Linked DNA regions of Homo sapiens: region 2 is linked to region 1. Evidence: promoter capture Hi-C in human tissues and cell types (Jung and others, 2019). All regions are on one chromosome and are shown on one strand. Each heading gives the region's core, a stretch centred on a gene start or on the middle of the fragment in contact. The rest is flanking DNA. Distances are from core to core; before and after follow the strand shown.

Region 1 (6,979 bases), core at 2,811-5,310:
AATCCTAGCAACATAAATAAAACTATTATTACTATTATTTTAAGACAGGGTCTTGCTCTGTCACCCAGGCTGGAGTGCAGTAGCACAATCTTGGCTTACCACAACCTCCACCTCCTGGGCTAAAGCAATCCTCCCACTTCAGCCTCCAGAGTAGCTGGGACTATAGGCAAATGCCATCATGCCCAGCTGATTTTTTGTATTTTTTTGTAGAGACAACATCCCTATGTTTCCCAGGCTGGTCTTGAACTCTTGGACTTGAGCGATCCACCCCCGCTTTGGCCTCCCAAAGTGCTGGGGTTACAGGGGTGAGCCACAGCTCCCGACCGTGTTATGTCATTTTTAAAAATGGATCAAAGACATAAGAGCTAAAACTCTAAGATTCTTAAAGAAAATATAGGGTCAAGATCTTCATGACCTTGGATTTGCCAACACTTTCTTGGCTATGACACAAAATCACAGTCAACAAAGAACAAAAAAATAGATAAATTGGACTTCATCAAAATTTAAAACTTTTGTGCAAAGGACACTACCAAAGAGTGAAAAGGCAACCAAGAGAATGGGAGAAAATGTATGCAAATTATATATCTGATAAGAGATTATTATTATTATTATTACTTGAGACAGGGTCTTGCTCTTTTGCCCAGGCTGGAGTGCAGTGGCACATTCTCAGCTCACTGCAGCCTCAACCTCCTAGGCTCAAACCATCCTCCCCGCTTAGCCCCCTGAGTAGCTGGGACTACAGGCACACACCACTCCATCTGGCTGATTTTTGTATTTTTTTGTAGTGGTGGGGTTTTGCCATGTTGCCTAGGCTGGTCTTGAACTCCTGAGCTCAAGCAATCCACCCACCTCAGCCTCCCAAAGTGCTGGGATTACAGGCATGAGCCACCATGCCCGGCCCTGATAAGAGATTAATATCCAGAGTATATAAAGAACTTCTGACACTCAACAATAACAAAAAACCCAATTGAAAAATGGACAAAGGTCTTCTTAAATAGATGTTTCTCCAAAGAAAATATACAAATAGCCAATAAGCACATGAAAAGATGCTCAACATCACTAATTATGAGGGAGATGCATGAGATACTACCTCACATTCATTAGGATGACTATTGTCAAAAAAAAAAAAGGAAAACAACAAGTGTTGACAAGGATGTGGAGAAATTAGAAATCTTGTCCATTGCTGGCAGGAATGTAAAATGGTACAGCCACTATGGAAAGCAGTATAATGGTTCTTCAAAAGTTAAACATAGAATTACCATCCAGCAAACCCACTTCTAGGTATATAATACCCAAAAGAATCGAAAGCAGGGACTTGAATGGGTATGTGTACACCAGTATTCATAGCAGCAGTATTCTCAGTGAAGTATTGATACATACCACATGGATGAACTTAAAATTATACTAAGTGAAATCAGCTGGACACAAAAGGACACATATTATATTATTCCATTTATATGGGGTACCTAGAATAGGCAAATTCCTAAGAACAGAAAGTAGAATAGTGGCTGCCAGGGGCTGGGGAAAAGGGGAATGGGGACTTATCACTTAATGGGAACAGAGTCTCGGTTTGGGATGATGAAAAAGTTCTGGAGATGGATAGTGGTGATGGTTGCACAACAATGTATGAATGTTCTTAATGCCACTGCATTGCACACTTAAAAATGGTTAAAATGGTAAATATGTTATGTATATTTTACCACAATTTAAACATGTATAAAGTTTCAAGAAATGGGGGGACAATACTATTAACAGCTCTAGTAACAGTTGCATCAGCAAAAAGATCCTTCTCAAAACAAAAAAGTATCAAATATTTCTTGCCATCTTACAATTGCCAAGAGCAACTGACATCACTTTCAGTTACACTGATTGAAAATTAGGTTGTTAGAAGTATAAACTTTGATGACCTAATCAATGAATTTTCAGAAAAGTCAGAAAAATCCTATGATCAAAATATTGCATACTTATAAAGTAATATATAGTATTATATAAAATTATGACACCAATTTTTAAAAAATTTATGTATATATTGATACTCATGTATCTCTATTAACCTTATTATATTTTACAAATAATAAAACATTTTTTAAAGGAAAAAGCTTTATAGTTAGCTTTTTTTTTTTGAGGCAGAGTCTCACTCTGTCACCCAGGCTGGAGTGCAGTGGCACGATCTTGGCTCACTGCAACCTCCACTTCCCTGGTTCAAGCAATTCTCCTGCCTCAGCCTCCTGAGTAGCTGGGATTATAGGTGCACGCCACCACGCCGGGCTAATCTTTTTGTATTTTTAGTAGAGACGGGGTTTCACCATATTGGCCAGACTGGTCTTGAACCCCTGACCTCAGGCAATCCACCTGCCTCGGCCCCCCAAAGTCCTGGGATTACAGGTGTGAGCCACCGCGCCCAGCCTATAGTTAGTATTTTAATGGCAAGTTCCCCTGCTTTTGGAAAAGGAGCTCTGCATTTGCAGTTTTGTTTTGGTGAAGCCCTACAAATTATGTAGCTGGCCCTGGTGCCAGCTTTCCCATTGATAGCCTGTCCAGCTTTGATCAAGTCACTTACCCTCTGCATCAGTTTTCTCACCCCCAAATGGGACTATTTAATCTGCTTCATGAAACTGGCATGAACATTTGTGCATATGTGCATGTGTATGTGTGTGCCTCTGTGTATGTGCATATGCATGAAAGTGGTTTGAAAAAGTATAGATGCTTTAAAATATTGGGTGGCATTGTTGTGACTATGAATAATTTTTAACCACTGCCCTTCCTGGAGTCTGAGTCTTCAGCCAAACACATTTACTGAAAATGAAGAAATTAATTCATTTAATTCATTATTTTCCATGGGGCTTTCCAGACAAACATTTGAGAAAGGAGCTAAATGATTCATGTGGTCCATAAAGGTATCATTTTTATAGACTGGTGATTATTTTATTATTACTATTTTTTTGAGACAGAGTTTCGCTCTTGTCGCCCATGCTGGAGTGCAATGGCGTGCTCTCGGCTCACTGCAACCTCCGCCTCCTGGGTTCAAGTGATTCTCCTGCCTTAGCCTTCCTAGTAGCTGGGATTACAGGCGGCTGCTACCTTGCCTGGCTAATTTTTGTATTTTTAGTGGAGACGGGGTTTCGCTATGTTGGTCAGGCTGGCCTCAAACTCCTGACCTCAGGTGATCCAAACGCCTCGGCCTCCCAAAATGCTGGGATTACAGGCATGCACCACCATGCCCGGTCCTAGACTAGTGATTTTATAGATGGCATTTCTTCACACGACTAAAAGCAGTCTAAACTGAAAACGATGCCAAAACACTAGACTTCAGTCAACAGTCTTAAAAGCCTACACTCCCAAATAGACTATTTGATAAACCCTCTGACTTCTAAGAAACTCAAAGGAAAAACACCACCAGGAGAGCCGAGTGCCCCCAGAATTGTCCTTGGACCATCTGTAGATCTTGTCTTATGATCCACTTATGCTGAGTGTAAACAGAGATACTGCTGTAAATAGAAGCCAAAATGTCCCTGCACTCAGATGGCTACATCTGGGAGCTCTGCCAAATTAGAGGATTTATGCGTCAGAGCCAGGTGGGTTCCACAGCAGAAGCTGGGGTCTCAAATCTGAACTTCTGCTTAACACACACTTGGTACCTACTCTGACACTATCGTGACCCTTGGTAAAGTGACTATTAATTCCTACCGCTGGGGCTTTCCTGGGCCCTGTACACATCCTCCTGACTCTCCTTGGAGACTATGTAGGTAGCTGGCTGAGGGGTGTGGCTAGGACCTTCGGTCAAGCTCTTCTATCAAGAGGCTGGCCCTGAAGAGCCACACTTGTAACTGATCAACAGCTTAACAAGCTGGTCGGGGTAGAACTCCGAATCCTTCACCGTTCCTGCGTCTCAGAAGCTGGCTAACATCTCCCTCCCTCCAGGGTGGTAGAATCCACTTTGAAATGTTCTCTCTCCCTGGCCCTCCCACTCCCTAACCTTTGCCCTCTTTCTAATTGCCCTGATCTCATCCCAACCTCCATAGCTATGTTTAAAGTCCACCTCTGGGGAACAGACAGATTGAATGTTCCAGATAATCCCTTTCCCAGTCCTGCCTGACATCTGGGTAGGGGGTTTGTCCCTGGAATTCTGGGACACTGGCTGGGGTTTGAGGAGAGAAGCCAGTACCTACCTGGCTGCAGGATGAAGCTGGCCAGTGGCTTCTTGGTTTTGTGGCTCAGCCTTGGGGGTGGCCTGGCTCAGAGCGACACGAGCCCTGACACGGAGGAGTCCTATTCAGACTGGGGCCTTCGGCACCTCCGGGGAAGCTTTGAATCCGTCAATAGCTACTTCGATTCTTTTCTGGAGCTGCTGGGAGGGAAGAATGGAGTCTGTCAGTACAGGTGCCGATATGGTGAGTGTGCGGTTTCTCTTTCTGTAAAAACTGTTGCTGGTGGACCCATGGACAGCCCCAGAGAGGTCACGATCTGTCTTGCACTTTTTCCTGTTATCCACTTAGAGCTGCCAGATTTAGCAGATAAAAATGTAGGACACCCAGTGAAATGTGAAATCCAAATAAACAACAAATAAGTCATTAGTATAAGTATGTCCAGTGAAATATCTGGGACATACTTATCCTGACAAATTCTTCGTTGTTTATCTCAAACTCACATTTCACTGAGCTTCCTGTATTGTATCTGGGAAACCTTCCCTGGGCCATTTTAATGAGTTTGTTGTGAGGCAGTTCTTAGGAAAAAAGGGTACCTGGGGTGGGAAGAAGGAGGGTGGGTATGAGAGGCCTCTGTGAGGAGTTCCCAGGGATGAAAACTGAAGCCGAACATTCAGAGAAAAATCTGCCATGGGGCAAAACCACCTCCTCAGCTGCTCTGTGCTCAGCTTGGAAACAAATTCTCCCTTCCCCCTGCTGCAGTTCACACCGTCCTCCCAGCTCTCAGTCCCTGACTGGCATCAATTTGCTGGACTTTCTCAAGGGAGCTGTCCCTGCCTGCAGCCTCGGCAACGACAGGCATGCTGTGGAGAGGAAGGGTTCGTGGCTCACCAGGGATCCCGGGGCTGTCCCCTGGACTTGGCGCCAGATGCAGATTTGTGAGCTGGCAGGAGCACTTCCCCTACCTTGCCTGAATATGGCTGGGGGTACACAGATATAAGGTGCACACCTGGCTGCCGGCACAGAGCCCCTGGTCCCAGGGGCCCTGGAAGTTAATGTAAGGGGAGCAAAATGTGGAGCCCCAGGCCTTGAAGCTGGGTGGCATCGTGTAATTGCCAATGCGCATGAAAACGTTTTCCAAAGCATGCACAGTCTCAGGTCTCAGGTAGCATTAGTTTTATGGTTTAATTTATCAACTATCTCATCAAGGGATTAGAAATGAAAATGGTGAGTCAATTTAGCCTAACAGGAAAACACATTTGAGAAATATTTTCTCCAAATACTCAACAGAGAAAAAGTCAGCTTTGAAGAGATGCACAAAAAAACTACATACTTCCCGGACTCACCCTTAAGTCTCTCTATTCCTTTTTGAGTGGGGAAAATCGCTTCCTTATACACTAAGAGTGACTAGGAGGTAATGGTTAATCATTGCATCAGGACCCAAAGTTTTGCAGCATAGATGTTTTAACAATCTATGGTTAAAATCTATGTTTTAACCATCTATGTTTTAACCATCTATGCTGCAGCTTCTTTGTGAAAGTTTCACAGAGAAAAATGCCTGGTCTGTTAGGACCCACCTGGCCCTAAAACCATGTATTTGTCCAAGGCAGTTGGACCAACGCAGAGGCCTTGCCACTGGATTATGCTCACACTGTTTGCACGGATGGGACAGGGAAGGGGTTGACTCACTTCAGACATTGGAATCAACACAGGTGTTTTCCTTCCTAAAGGCAACACAGGACTAGTATCTGTAGTTCAGCAAATAGGCAACAGCAGGAATTTTTATTAGGAAATCAAGAACCAAATCCTATTCTTCCTTCTCTAGCAAAACAGCATTAAAAGACTTAAGCAAATTTTAGTTGCGGAGCCTCTGGCTGGGCAGGGTGGAAGCCAGCAGCAACTGGTGGGGGATGGGAAGAGTAAATAGAAGAGAAAGGCAAATAACTCTTCTCACTTTGTGTAAAACAACCTGCTCAAAGAGGGGCCTGAAAAACACTTAGAAAAATAGGCGGTTATGCCTCCTTACCTTGGAACCCAGTAGAGCCAAAAACCTGGCGGCTGTGCCCAAAAGAGTACAAAATACCTTCTCAAACTGATTGTGAATCGAGCAATCTTTTGAACAGACAACACCTAACAACGAGTCTGCTCTTTTGTAGTTTGCTTTGTGACACATCTCTCATGCACCGTGCTCGTCTTTTAAGTAGTGGTTCTCAAACTCACCTGTGAATTGAAGCCCCTGGAGGGCAGATTCAACCAGATCTCTGGGCCCCACCCCAGGTGTTTCTGATTAGTAGGAGATTCTGGGCTTAGGAGATCCTCCTGCCTCAGCCTCCCAGTTAGCTTGGGCTACAGGTGTGCGCCACCATGCCCAGATAATTTTGTAACTTTTTGTAGAGCAGGGAGTCTCACCATCTTGCCCAGGCTGGTCTCCAACTCCAGGGCTCAAGCAATCCTCCCAACTTGGCCTCCCAGATTGCTGGGATTATAGGCGTGAGCCACGGCACCAGCCAGATTTTACCTTTGATAGGTACTAACTACTATTTAAAACAGTGGGTTTCTAACTTGGGTACACTTCAGATCACCTGAGGGGCTTTAACAACACCTGGCACCAAATCAATTAAATCAAAATTTCTGTGGGTTGGCCCCAGACATCAGTATTTTAACATTTTTCCCAGGTGATTGCAAAGCACAGCCAAGGTAAAGGGGTGCCATTCTATGACGTCATTCTTAGAGAACTTCAGCCCACAGGTTAAATTATGCAGGCAGATAAAACTGTGTATGTATCCTGGTAGCCCATGATAGCATGTCAACATTGTTTTCCGTGCTTCTCATAT
Region 2 (6,979 bases), core at 1,143-3,642, 35 kb before region 1:
TGAATCTGGGTGCCCCTGTATTGGGTGCATATATACATGTTTAGGATAGTTAGCTCTTCTTGTTGAATTGATCCCTTTACCATTATGTAATGATCATCTTTGTCTCTTTTGATCTTTGTTGGTTTAAAGTCTGTTTTGTCAGAGACTAGGATTGCAACCACTGGTTTTTTTTTTTTGTTTTTTTTTTTTTTTTTTTCTTTCCATTTGCTTGGTAGATTTCCTCCATCCCTTTATTTTGAGCCTATGTGCATCTTTGCACATGAGATGGGTCTCCTGAATACAGCACACTGATGGGTCTTGACTCTTTATCCAATTTGCCAGTCTGTGTCTTTCAATTGGGGCATTTAGCCCATTTACATTTAAGGTTAATATTGTTATGTGTGAATTTGATCCTGTCATTATGATGTTAGCTGGTTATTTTGCCCGTTAATTGATGTTTTTTCTTCATAGCATCAATGGTCTTTACAATTTGGCATGTTTTTGCAGTGGCTGGTGCTGGTTGTTTCTTTCCATGTTTAGTGCTTTCTTCAGGAGCTCTTGTAAGGCAGGCCTGGTGGTGACAAAATCTCTCAGCATTTGCTTGTCTGTAAAGGATTTTATTTCTCCTTCACTTACGAAGCTTAGTTTGTCTGGATATGAAATTCTGGGTTGAAAATTCTTTTAAGAATGCTGAATATTGGCCCCCACTCTCTTCCAGCTTGTAGGGTTTCTGCTGAGAGATCCACTGTTAGTCTAATGGGCTTCCCTTTGTGGGTAACCCGACCTTTCTCTCTGGCTGCCCTTAACACTTTTTCTTTCATTTCAACCTTGGTGAATCTGGCAATTATGTGTCTTGGAGTTGCTCCTCTCACGGAATATCTTTGTGGTGGTCTCTCTATTTCCTGAATTTGAATGTTGGCCTGCCTTGCTAGGTTGGGGAAGTTCTCCTGGATATTCTGAACAGTATTTTCCAACCTGGTTCCATTCTCCCCATCACTTTCTGGTATACCAATTAAACGTAGATTTGGTCTTTTCACATAGTCCCATATTTCTTGGAGGCTTTGTTCATTTCATTTTATTCTTTTTTTCTCTAACCTTGTCTTCTTGCTTTATTTCATTAATTTGATCTTAAATCACTGATACCCTTTCTTCCACTTGATTGAATCGGCTATTGAAGCTTGTGCATGCATCATGAAGTTCTTGTGCCATGGTTTTCAGCTCCATCAAGTCATTTAAGGTCTTCTCTACACTGTTTGTTCTAATTAGCCATTCATCTAACCTTTTTTCAAGGGTTTTAGCTTCCTTGCTATGGGTTCAAACATCCTCCTTTAGCTTGGAGAAGTTTGTTATTACTGACCTTCTGAAGCCTACTTCTGTCAACTTGTCAAAGTCATTCTCCATCCAGCTGTGTTCCGTTGCGGGCAAGGAGCTGCGATCCTTTGTAGGAGAAGAGGCACTCTGATTTTTGTATTTTTCAGCTTTTCTGCTCTGGTTTCTCCCCATCTTTGTGGTTTTGTCTACCTTTGGTCTTTGATGTTGGTGACCTACAGATGAGGTTTTGGTGTAGATGACCTTTTTGTTGATGTTGATGCTATTCCTTTCTGTTTGTTAGTTTTCCTTCTAACAGTCAGGTCCCTCAGCTGCAGGTCTGTTGGAGTTTGCTGGAGGTCCATTCCAGACCCTGTTTGCCTGGGTATCACCAGTGGAGGCTGCAGAACAGCAAATATTGCAGAACAGCAAATATTGCTGCCTGATCCTTCCTCTGGAAGCTTCATCCCAGAGGGGCAGCCGCCTATAGGAGGTGTCTGTCGGCCCCTACTGGGAGGTGTCCCCAGTTAGGCTACACGGGGGTCAGAGACCCTCTTGAGGAGGCAGTCTTCCATTCTTAGAGCTCAAATGCTGTGCTGGGAGAACCACTGCTCTCTTCAGAGCTGTCAGACAGGGACGTTTAAGTCTGCAGAAGTTGTCTGCTGGCTTTTGTTCAGCTATGCCCTGCCCACAGAGGTGGAGTGTAGAGGCAGTAGGCCTTGTTGAGCTGTGGTGGGCTCTACCCAGCTTGAGCTTCCCGGCTGCTTTGTTTACCTACTCAAGCCTCAGCAATGGCTACGCCCCCTCCCCCTGCCTGGCTGCAGCCTAGCAGGCTGATCTCAGACTGCTGTGCTAGCAGTGAACAAGGCTCTGTGGGCGTGGGACCCACCGAGCCATGCATGGGAGAGAATCTCCTTGTCTGCCGGTTGCTAAGACCTTGGAAAAAGTGCTGTATTTGGGTGGGAGTGTCCCTTTCCAGGTAGTCTGTCACGGCTTCCCTTGGCTAAGAAAGGGAAATTCCCTGACCCCTTGTGCTTCCCGGATGAGGTGATGCCCCGCCCTGCTTTGGCTTGCCCCCACTGTCCAACCAGTACCAATGAGATGAACCAGGTACCTCCCTTGGAAATGCAGAAATCACCCATCTTCTGTGTTGATCACACTGGGAGCTGCAGACCAGAGCTGTTCCTATTCAGCCATCTTGGAACGCCCCTCATGATTTTTTTTTAAATAGCAAGGGACAGAAATTTCCTCAACTTGATAAAAGGCATTTATAAGAATCTTATTTTAGCATATTTAAACGGTAAAGGACAGAATGCCTTCTCCCTATGTTTGGAATAAGTCAACAATATCTGCTTTCCTCCATTCCTACTTAACATTGAACTAGAAATCCGGGTTAACGCAATAACGTAAGAAACAGAAATAAAAGGCACACACCTCAGAAAGGAAGAATTAAAGTAGTAGTCTTTATTCATATGTGACATGATTGTGTTGGTTAGAAAAAAAATTCCTAGAGAATCTACAAAAGAGTTTTTAAAAATGAACAGAGGTTAACAAGAGTGTAGAATACAAAGTCCATATACAAAAACGAATTAAAAACTGAATTTAAAAAACAGTATGATAGCCTGAAAAATGTTACACTTAGATTTAAATTTAACAAAATATGTATAAGAACTGTATATTGAAAACTATAAAACATTGCTGAGAAATATTAGAGAAGTTCTAAATAAATGGAGATAGGTATCATGTTCACAGATCAGAGGACTCAATTTTGCTTTCCCCAAATTAACCTATATATTCAAGACAATCCCAATAAAAATCCAAGCAGATTTTTTAAAAATAGTCTCATTCTAAAACAAAAAATTTATTTAAAGAGACAGGGTCTTGCTCTGTTGCCCAGACTGAAATGCTGTAGCACGATCATAGCTCACTGCAGCCTTGAACTCCTGGGCTCAAGCAATCCTCCCACGTCAGCTTCCTGAGTAGTTGGGATTATAGGCATGAACTATCATGCTTGCCTTATCCTAAAATTTATACGGAAATACAAAGGATCCAGAATAAAGATGACAATTAGCGGGGGAAGAAAAGGAATAAAGTTGGAAGATTCACATGACCTAATTTAAAGACTTTTTTTTTTTTTTTTTTTTTTTGGTGAGACAGAGTCTTACTCTGTCCCCCAGGTTGGGTGCAGCAGCGTTAGCTCACTGCAACCTCCACTTCCCGGAATCAAGCAATTCTCCTGCCACAGCCTCCCAAGTAGCTGAGATTACAGGTTCCTGCCACCACGCCCAGCTAATTAATTTTTGTATTTTTAGTAGAGATGGGGGTTTCACCATGTTGGCCAGACTGGTCTTGAACTCCTGACCTCAAGTGATCCACCCACCTTGGCCTCCCAAAGTGCTGGGATTACAGGCATGAGCTACCGTGCCCGGCCTAAAGACTTTTTATAAAGCAACAGTAAGTGAAGATAGTGTTATTATTCTAAGAATAGACATATAGATCAATGGCACAAAATAGAAAGTCCAGAAAGAGACAAACACATACGCGTTCAACTGATTGTCCGCAAAGGAGTCAATACAATTCAATAGAAAATGGATACCTTTCAACAAGTGTAACTGGAACAAATTGGTTATCTGTCTACCACCTATGTGTCTATCAAGCCATAACCTTTACTTCATGCTATATACAAAAAATAAGTTGAAATGAATTATATACCTGAATGTGAAAGTTACAACTATAAAAACTTAGGAAAAAAATACTTTTGACTTCGGGATAGGCAGTAGTTTCTTAGGACATAAAAAGCATTAACCTCAGCCAGGTGTGGTGGCTCATGCCTGTAATCCTAGCACTTTGGGAGGCTGAGGCAGGAATGTCACTTGAGGTCAGGAGTTCAAGACCAGCATGGGCAATATAGTGAGACCCTGTTCTATTAAACAAACAAACCAGAAAAAAACAACAACAAAAAAGCATTAACCATAAAAGAAAAAATACACTGGAGTTTACCAATATTTGAAAGTTCTTCTTTTTGAAAGTCACTTAAGAAAATGAAATGGCAAGATGCAGACTAGAAGAAAATGTGTGTGTGTGTGTGTGTGTGTGTGTGTGTGTGTGTGTCTGAAAAAGGACTTGTATCCAGATTGAGACAGTTCAATTTAAAAAGGGCAAAGATTTTAATAGGTGCTTTCACTAAAGAAGATATGTGAATAACTACAAAGCATATGAAAAGATGCTTAAGATCATTGGTCATCAAGGAAATGCAAACTGAAATCACAGTAAGATACTACTACACACTCACTCTACTGGCTAAAATTAAAAAGACTGACAATGCAGGATATGGAACCACTGGAACTCATACACTCTTGGTGGAAATGCAAAATGGTACAACCACTTTAGCAAGCAGTTTTGCAGTCTCTTATGAAGTTAAATATACAGTTGACCCTTAAACAACATGGGTTTGAACTGGGTTTTTTTTTTCAGTGAAACACAGGTGGAAAATAATACATATTTGCAGGATGCAAAACCCACATATATGGAGGTCTGACTTTTCAAATATGCGTGTTCCACAGAGCTGACTGAGAAACTTGAGGATGCATGGATTTTGGTATACATGGGAGGTCCTGGAGGAATCCCCTGTGTATATACCAAGGATTGACTGTGTACTTCTCATATAACCCATGAATTCCATTCCTAGGTTTTTTCCCTGAAGAGAATTGACAATGTGTACATATAAAGACTCATGAGTCTTCACAGCAGCATTATTCATAATGGCCCTGAACTAGAAACAACCCAAATTTCTATCCACAGTGAAATGAGTAATCAAACTATGGTATTGCCATTTAGAGTAATACTCAGTAATAAAATGAACTAGTAGTGATATATACAATGATATATATGAATCTCCAAAAATGCTGAGTGAAAGAAGCCAGGCATGAAAGAGTAAATACTCTATAGTTACATTTATATGACACTGTAGGAAAGAAATTTATAGTGATTAAAAAGTAGATCACTGTTTGCCACGGGCAACAGTGGGGTGGGAGTAGGGTGGGAATTGACATGAAAGGTGCACAAGAGACATTCTGGGGTGATTAAAATGTTCTATATCCTGGTGGTTCTTCAGGTGCATACATTTAACAAAGCTCATTTTATAGTATATTTAAAATATATGCATTTTATTCGATGTAAATTATTCATTAAAATCTACTTTTTAAAAATTAGCAAACAACCAGGCAATGTAAACCATGCATCAAAAATATTGTGACCAAGTATCATGTATCCCAAGAATGTAAAGATGGTTCAACGTTTTAAAAACCTGTTAATGAGGCTGGGCGTGGTGGCTCATGCCTGTAATCCCAGCACTTTGGGAGGCTGAGGCAGGAGGATCACTTGAGGTCAGGAGTTCGAGACCAGCCTGGCCAACATGGCAAAACCCCATCTCTACTAAAAATACAAAAACTTGCTGGGCATGGTGGTGCATACCTGTAATCTCAGCTACTTGGGTGGCTGAGACAGGAGAATCACTTGAACCCAGGAGGCAGAGGTTGCAGTGAGACGAGATAGTACCACTGCACTCCAGCCTGGGGGATAAGAGTGAAACTCCGTCTCAAAAAAAAAAAAAATCTGTTAATAAAATCCACAATATTAGTAGATATGTTGTTAGGGAAAAGTATTTGACACCCATTTATGATTTTAAAAATAAGATACTCCTTGAAAACTAGTAGAAGGGAACCTCCTTAACTTGATTAGCGGGATCTACCATAAGCTTCTAACGAATATCACACTTGATTGTGAAACTAATTTTGAAACACTTTAGATAATGCCAGAAATAAAGTCAGAGTGCTTGGTAGCACTTCTTCCACTCAAAATGGTTCTAGATGTGTTGATAATATAAGAAAAAGAAAAGAAGTATGTGGCAGATAATTTAGAAAACCTCACTCTGCCTATTCCAATTCTTACTTTCATATACCAAAGAAGCTGAAAGCTAAAATATTTAAAAGACTTCCATATCTGTAAGAATCTTCCTAGGCTTCGTCAAGCAAATGTACCCCAGAACAATATATGGCAGCAATTGCAAGAGGAGACTGGATCTTTTGTGGTAAGCCTCATGATGGTGGCACCTGGTTCTTTCAGAGCTTCTGTGACACAGTTTCTGGCATCTATCTATCTATCTATATATATAGAGAGAGATGAGGTCTTGCTCTGTTGCCCAGGCTGGAGTGCAGTGGCACAATCATAGCTCACTGCATCCTTGAACTCCTGGGCTCAAGTGATCCTCCCACCTCAGCCTTCTAAGTAGCTAAAACTGCAGATGTACAACACTGTCTGGCTAGTGTCTTAAGTATTGAGTGGCAGCAGTAGTAGGTTGGAAATTTTATTTGCCATATAGCATCCAAGTTCAACACTCGCATAGATTTTGTGACCTAATTGATCATTTTTAACTACTTTTTGCTTAAATTGTTGTGTTCTAAGCAGTAAGAGTCTTACTACTTAACTATTCTTGGAAATAAAAAGTAAAACACACTCAGCATCAGGCCAGGCACAGAGTGAGCGCCCAGTAAGTGGTGCTCACTGTTATTACAGTTAAGCTAAATAAATTTCATAGAAGAATGAGTGAAACTGAGCCATAAAGGATGCATCAGATTTAACCAGGCAGAGGAAGCGTTTCAGGAGAGGAGTGTGGTAATTAAAGACTGTGTGC

The links. Contacts are between HindIII fragments. The study calls those that stand out against the background at their distance.
Region 2: a contact is called between a fragment that was not itself captured here and the fragment with the promoter of PLA2G12B in region 1, in 1 of the 25 tissues and cell types used here (pancreas).

Annotation. Positions count from the first base shown.
Region 1 is chr10:72,951,887-72,958,865 of GRCh38, reverse strand. It overlaps PLA2G12B (phospholipase A2 group XIIB), which reads left to right and starts at 4,060. Exons shown (of 4, transcript NM_032562.5): 1 at 4,060-4,391. The coding sequence starts at 4,181. The HindIII fragment of the contact is 10,065 bases long and covers 1-6,979 here.
Region 2 is chr10:72,985,086-72,992,064 of GRCh38, reverse strand. No RefSeq gene overlaps it. Among named protein-coding and RNA genes, the nearest start is that of PLA2G12B, 34 kb to the right of the region's middle. The HindIII fragment of the contact is 3,008 bases long and covers 889-3,896 here.